2 separate regions of the Homo sapiens genome follow, and region 2 is linked to region 1. The links are contacts of gene promoters, found by promoter capture Hi-C in human tissues and cell types (Jung and others, 2019). All regions are on one chromosome and are shown on one strand. Each heading gives the region's core, a stretch centred on a gene start or on the middle of the fragment in contact. The rest is flanking DNA. Distances are from core to core; before and after follow the strand shown. Region 1 holds the start of RAET1E (retinoic acid early transcript 1E). Region 2 holds the start of LOC124901427 (a long non-coding RNA gene).

Region 1 (3,615 bases), core at 296-2,795:
CTGCTACCGCCCTGCCAATACTGCTGCTGTGGGGACACCAGCGGGGGTGGGCCAAGAACAGAGTGTATGTGTGTGTTTGTGTGTGTGTGTGTGTGTGTGCATGGGTGCTTGTGTGTGTGTGCGTGCATATGTGTGATATGACCACTGAGTAGCTCCTTAGCAGGGCCAATATTTTCTACAAGTCTGATGACTCACAGGAAGGAGCACACCAGGCCTATACTTGGGTCCTGACATCTGGGATGCCAACCTAACACTGAAGAAAAAGAAAGAGCTGCAGACAGGCTGGGAAAAATATACAGAAAGGGGAAAGGGGCCCTTCCACCTTTGTTGCCCTCTGTGGTCCTGAATCTCAGCTTGGCCTGAGCCAACCTGAAGATGGGAAGGAATAGCCATTTTCCAACTGCAAAATGTCAGCTTCAGGCAATGGTTTCAAAACTGAAGTAATGGTTACATATGAAGTAGATTTTTGTTTGTTTTGTTTTTTGAGACCAGGTCTTGCTCTGTCATCCAGGTGGAGTGCAGTGGCATGAGCACGGCTCACTGCAGCCTTGAACTCCCAGGCTCAATCAGTCCTTCCACTTCAGCCTCCAGAATAGCTGGCACTACAGGCATGAGCCACCACACCCAGCTAATTTTTAAATTTTTGGTGTGGAGATGGGGTCTCATCACGTTGCCCAGGCTGATCTCGAACTCCTGGGCTCAAACAATCCTCCCCCCTCAGCCTCCCAAAGTGTTGGGATTACAGGAGTGAGCCACCACACCCGGCTGAAATGGAATTTTAATTGAAGTAAGAAGCGGGTGATAAGGAAAGTGAAACCAATAATTTCACATAGTCCCTGGAAGCCCGTTGCTATAAAGAACTTTCAGCCTGAAGTCCAAAGAGAGACGAAAATTTTAAAATGAATTGGACTGCAGTTTTCAATCCCTGAAAATGAGTCACAGCCTTTTTGTGGCAGTGTGCCCTGGGCTTCTAACCGTCCTCTCCCTGCCCCAGCTGCCTTGAGGTCCCGGCCAATGGTTTCAACACTCAGGCTAGGAATGCCAAGGCCCGGCAGAGCGAGGCTGTGGAAGCCTTGGCATAAGCGGAAGGGAGGATCTGAGGGAGAATGGGACAAGAGAAGTCGGAAAGAAGGAGTTAGGGCAGGAGAACAAGGAGAAATCCCTGTCCCCCAAATTGGAGAGAGGGGCGATTGGGACTCCAGACTGGAAGGAGGCACGGATCCCTGAGTGCTTGGTGTGGAGGCAGAGGACCCGCAGAGCCACCCCGTCCTCCCTGCCTTATCCAGCGTCCCCGCCGCCACACCCCCAGCATCTCCCCCAACCCCACTTTTACTTCATTATCTGCCCCTGGTTCTCTCACCACTCGAGCCCCTGCTTTCCTCCTTCACTCCCAAACATGCACACGTTCCCTCTGCACGGGTGTTTGGAACACCAGCCATCCCCCACCCCCTACCTTGTGCCAGCAGGAGATGTTTGTCCTTCTGCCGTCTCTAGGATGGAGAGGCCTGAGGTGACTGCTTCCTCAGAGTCTCTGTGCAAACTCTCTGAGGAGCAGAAACCAGTTCAGTCTCTCTGGGTGTGGAGAGGCCGGCCTAGCAGAACACCCGTCCACCATGCAAACCGGGTGGGGCCACCTGTCAACTGTCACGTGTGAGTGATTCTAGGACAGGGTAACTCGTCCAGAATTGGATCCAATTCAGTACTGGATTCACCATCAGTAGAAGGACCAAGACCAGACTCAAGTCCCAGCCACGAAATTCTAGAAAGGATTTAATGTAATTTTAGCAGTTGTTGGAGACCAGCATGTGATGGCATACATATGTTTTCCTTGATATGTAGGTGGGGGCCCCCACCTTTTTTCAGGGTTTAGGCTTCTGCAGGTCCTGGCATAGCTGTGACAGCGGCCCTACCTCATTTCTGGTGGGTGCTGGCTCCCTCTATTGCTTGGTTTCTGTGCAAACACTGCATTATCGTCCTGCCCTCTTGAGACCTGGAGCTCCTGCCCCCTGAGCTCGTGTTCGCACTGTGTGTCACTGAACCTCGCTGTTTTCTTCTTGCAACTCCATTCCCCTCTGCAACTGGAAGACCAGCACTTCTCCTGAGTCTTCCTTAAAAGACACCCTGCCCACTTCCTTACAAAGCCCCCACCAAAGTGACACCAGCTACTTGTGAATGTAGCCAACTTTACTGAAGATTTAGAGGTTATGTTATAAGGCTGTGAATAATTTAAAAAAAAAATCACCTATTTGCTCGACCTCTTTCTTATCTCTTCTTTGGACTAGAAATAAAATATCTATGATTTGACCACACTGTCATCTAGTACTCGACCCTGGTTCTAGGCCACCGTCCTCCTGGCCAGGGTGATTGCAGTGCTGCCCTACTTGGTTCTCCGTGCCTGTCCCCACCTCCCAAATGGCTACAGCGCAGCCAGAGTGATCTTCAGAACCTCATCACTCACGCCCCCCTCTGCTCCAATTCTCCAAAAGTGCCCTTTTTCTCTCAGTAAAACCAAAGTCACTACAGATGCCTAGAGAGCCCTGCACAGTCTGGCCAGCTGTCCATTATGCCCCCTCACTCGCTCAGTTCCGACCTCCACCCTCGGCCTCCTTGCTGGTCTTCAGAGCCCTGCAGATGTCCCCGTGCCTTGGGACTTTGCATTGCCCTCCCTTCAGCATGGACTGCCCTTCAGGCATCTGCCCGGCTCACTCCCACTCCTGCTCCCAGGTGGCACACCCTTCCACGCCTGGTTCTCCCTGCCCCTCGCATTTGGAACCCTTGTATTTCTTTCTTTCTTTCTTTTTTTAAAATTGTGGTATGATTCATGTAACGTGATTTTTCATCTTAACCACTGTTAAATGTAAAGGCCTCTATTTCATAATGGGAGACCTCTGCCTGCCCAGGCCATCCTGGACCTTCTTCACCTGAACTTGTTCCCCTAAAGCAATGACCACTTTAAAACATACCTTAGTAAGCCGCGCACAGTGGCTTACACCTGTAATCCCAGCATTTTGGGAGGTCAGGGAGGCTGGATCACCTGAGGTTGAGTTTGAGACCAGCCTGGCCAACATGTTGAAACCCTGTCTCTACTAAAAATAAGAGAATTAGCCGGGTGTGGTGGCCAGTGCCTGTAATCCCATCTACTCAGCTTATTGAGTCAGGAGAATCACTTGAAGCCAGGAGGCGGAGGTTGCAGTGAGCCGAGATCACGCCACTGCTTTGCAGCCTGGGCAACAGAATGAGACTCTATCCCTATAAACAAACAATCAAACAAACCTTATTAACTTTTAATTGTGGTTGCAACAAATTACTGCAAATTTAGTGCCTTAAAACAACATACATTCATTCTTTTACCATTCTGGAGCTCAGAAGTCTGAATAGTCTCACGGAGCTATCATCACTGTGCTGTCAGGGCTGTGTTCCTTTGGGAGGCTCTCGGGGAGAACCTGTCTCCTCCTTGCCTTTTCCAGCTGCTCAACTGCCCACGTCCATGGCTCAGGACCCCATTTCCTCATCTTCAAAGGCAGCTCCACCAGGCTGAGTCCTGGTTTACATGAGAACACTACCCCTCCATGGCTGGTTTTCCCAGGGCAGCTGATTAGCCACCTCAGCTCCATC
Region 2 (3,615 bases), core at 610-3,109, 47 kb before region 1:
TTTCAACACTTTGGGAGGCCAAGGAGGGAGGATTGCTTGAGCCCAGGAGTTTGAGATCAGCCTGGGCAGCATAGTGAGACCTCATCTCTACAAAAAGTTAAAAAAAAAATTAGCCATGACTATAGTCCCAGCTACTCAGTAGGCTGAGGTGGGAGGACTGCTTGAGGCTGCAGTGAGCTATGATTGTGCCACTCACTGCACTCCAGCCTGGGCAACAGAGACCCTGTCAATGAATGAATGAATGAATAAACGAATGAATGAGACAAGTCAGGAACATGAGCTTTCCTGTATGCTTAGTGCCTAGTACAGTACTGGACACATACCAGATGCTTAAAAATTAACTATTAATTGTTTCATAACTAATCTGACAGCATAATTCCTTGCAGGTTGAATACCTGTCTGGGTCACTTGGACATGAAAAGATGGGCCCTAGAAGCTGATCTTAAAGTATCACGAGGCAAAGGGAGAGATCACTACTCTGCCTGAGAACAGACAGCAAGGGTGAGGAGCCCGTGCAGATGGTGGAGAGCAGGGGAGATGAGAGGAGGGATGAATGGCTCAAGAAGAGGAGGAGATGGGCGCTCAGGGGAAAGCCCAATCAATGGACACTCTTGGGTGCTAGGGACAGTCAAGGGACTTAGGAACAAGGGCATCCAATAACAGGTTTTAACTTAACTATTTTGCTGTGTGACTGCCCTCCCTCTATTCTCAACAACCTTCAAACTTAGCCCCATTTTGCAGCTTGAGGGCGGAGTGCATCAGTGTTCCAGTCAGCAGGAAGCCATTCTCAGAGAAAAAGGAATTTGATTTGAGAGGCCCAATTCTCCTGGCAGAAATGTTGGGGTGTGAAATAAGGCTGCTCAAGTTAAAGGGATCAGAGGCATAGCTCCTGAGGGTTAATTACTGTTAAAGGAAAATTCTCAAAATAGTAAAGCTATGACTGTCACACAAATATAATATGAATATTTTTCAAAGACATTAGTTAAAGAGGGAACCAATAAGGTGTTCAACTGATTTAAAGAATCTGAAGACTACACATATACAGGCAATCATGAATGCCAAAAAGAAGTTGCTAGGAGATGCAAAACTGAAATGGGTTTGCTAATCAGTACTGAAATGAATCTACTAATAGATCGGTTAGTATCTACATGTACTAAAATGTCATGTTTGAAATCTTATTTTCTCTAGGGTGAAAGTCAATTACCCCTATATACCTAATTTTCTTTTGCATTTCTATGGACAAGAATCATTTGGTTACTATCAGTTTTCTGCAACTTATAGATGTTAACCCTGAAGGATCCACTAACCAACCCAGCATTCCATTGAAAGGTACTTAGTAATCTTTTGCCCACCTCAAAGTCTTCCACAATGTTTCCTGACAGTCTTCATCCACCAAATGGGGATGTGCCTACAAGTGAGGGTGTCCAGTGGATTACAGATCTCTCTAAGCTGCCTGGCACTCAGTGGGTGCTCAATCCGTGGGGGCTTTGATTATGATGAAGTCTCAGCAGGATGAGTGTTAACTTTGGGTGACATTCATGAATGTATATCATTCTAAGACAGTCACAAATTGGTAACAGATGTTTCCCCTAGTACAGGCCCTGTCATTTAGATGATGGCTTCATAACTTGAGGTCTACCTGCCGTCACTGTTATACACGATTGGGAACTGGTTCAGAGTTTCCTCTTGAAGGCAAGAAAAATGCAGCACGAACCCACTGTGTGATGCAGCTACTGACACAGTTCATGTAACGAAGCTCATTAATAGAAGGAGAGGCAATATCTGGATCACAGTAGGTAATGAATGAGTCAGAAAACCAAAGCTTAAATATGGGGTTCAATTAGGGGTATTAGATGTTAAGAAGGGTATGGATTAATATGAGAAAATCCAGACAAGGCAGGATAGTGGCGGGCCTGAAAAATCAATTCATATGAGGAACATCTGACAAACTGTGGGGTGCTGAGTTCTGAGAACAGCATACCAATTGGTGATGTTCTTTCTTTCTTTCTTTCTTTTTTTCAAAGACTTCCAAAGCTTTTACACAGGATAAAAAGATGAGTTCAGTGTTTTTCCAAAGGGAAGACCCAACACCAATGCACAGAAGTAAGGGGAGGCGTAGCCTGCTTGCCCAACACAGTGATGAGTAATGTCATGGACATGATGTGAAGTAGTGAGCTTCTGCCCTTGGAAAAGTCAGACAGATGGCAGATGAGCCTTGGAAGGGGTGTTGTGGAAGGCACTCTTGTTTGGAGGAGAGGCTGGGAAGGATGCTGGGTGTATTAGTCCATTCTCACACTGCTACAAAGAACTGCCCGAAACTGGGTAATTTACAAAGGAAAGAGGTTTAATTGACTCATAGTTCCACATGGCTGGGGAGGCCTCAGGAAACTTACTAGTATAATCACCGCAGAAGGCAAAGGGGAAGCAAGGCACCTTCTTCACAAGGTGGCAGGAGAAACAACCAAATACTTATAAAACCAGCAGATCTTGCGAGAACTCACTCACTATCATGAGAATAGCATGGGGGTGACTGCCTCCATAATTCAGTAACCTCCACCTGGTCTCTCCCTTGACACGTGGAGATTATGGGGATTACAATTCAAGATGAGATTTTTGGGTGGGGACAAAGGCAAACCATACTGGACGAGGGTGAGTCCAATTCTAATGCAATATAATCAGGGAGTAAAATCACTCTTACTTAAACCAGTGATGAGGGACTTCCAGATTTGTTTTTGTTTTGGTTCCAGTAGAGTACAAATCAGTGCCTCCTTACCTCACCCTCTTTCTCCACTTCCTCTAACTGAAGTGGTTTGGATGCAGTTTATCTGCCTAAGCCAGGAAGTGCTTATTTGCCTAAGCCAGGAATCCACCCTGAGAGGGTGAATAAAAAGCCACTTGTCTCACCACCCAAGACTTCCTGAGCATAGGCAGCCACCAGCCACATGGCTGATTTCCATCGGCGGCTATCCCAGGAGCCCCGGGCAGGAGCCCCGGGCAGGAGCACCGCATGCTGGCCTCCCTCCCTCACAGGCTCGGTGTGCCCCAGCAGACCTAGCTGCCAGGTAAGCTGTCTACTTTCCGGCTCATGTGAAGGATAAGTTCATCCTATTGTTATTGTCCTCTTTAGACTCCTTTGTAGTTTCAAATTTTCTACCTGGATCTTGAGCTCAGAAAAAGAAATAGAACTTTAAAAAAGTAATCTGAGTCATTAAAACAAAGCATGAGCCTTCTTCCTTGAAGTGTCTTTGTCCTCTAGACAAGTCACAAACAGCAGCTAGAAGGAGGGTAGGCTCCAAGACAAATGATCGAGATTGCTGCTCACTCTCAGCAGAAAAGCACATTGAGATAATAAACCATTTTGGCATAATCAGTTTTATACAGTCTCCATTTTATGCCTTCTGCTAGCGTACAGACATTTAGGGAGCATGAAGTGGCAGGACATTACAAAAGACCACTTCACTGAAATACTCGTTTTTGTTAGCAGTGACAACATGCGTTACCTTCATGTCCACTGACGGGTCCCCCTGCAGCAGTGCCCACTCATACTGGACGATGGCGTGGTCATCTGTGCTCTCGCGGCCGTCTAGAACCACCCCGTCTGTGGGCAGATGCAGA

What was found. Contacts are between HindIII fragments. The study calls those that stand out against the background at their distance.
Region 2: a fragment that was not itself captured here is called in contact with the fragment with the promoter of RAET1E in region 1 in 1 of the 25 tissues and cell types used here (psoas muscle).

Annotation. Positions count from the first base shown.
Region 1 is chr6:149,896,568-149,900,182 of GRCh38, forward strand. RAET1E (retinoic acid early transcript 1E) reads right to left here and starts at 1,546. Exons shown (of 6, transcript NM_001394057.1): 1 at 1,454-1,546. All of the region lies in intron 1 of RAET1E-AS1 (RAET1E antisense RNA 1), which reads left to right. RefSeq lists a silencer at 1,806-2,100. The HindIII fragment of the contact is 8,770 bases long and covers 1-3,615 here.
Region 2 is chr6:149,849,503-149,853,117 of GRCh38, forward strand. LRP11 (LDL receptor related protein 11) reads right to left here. Exons shown (of 7, transcript NM_032832.6): 2 at 3,501-3,615. It overlaps RAET1E-LRP11 (RAET1E-LRP11 readthrough), which reads right to left. Exons shown (of 15, transcript NR_182438.1): 10 at 3,501-3,615. LOC124901427 (a long non-coding RNA gene) reads left to right here and starts at 2,912. Exons shown (of 2, transcript XR_007059808.1): 1 at 2,912-3,062; 2 at 3,482-3,615. The HindIII fragment of the contact is 3,383 bases long and covers 169-3,551 here.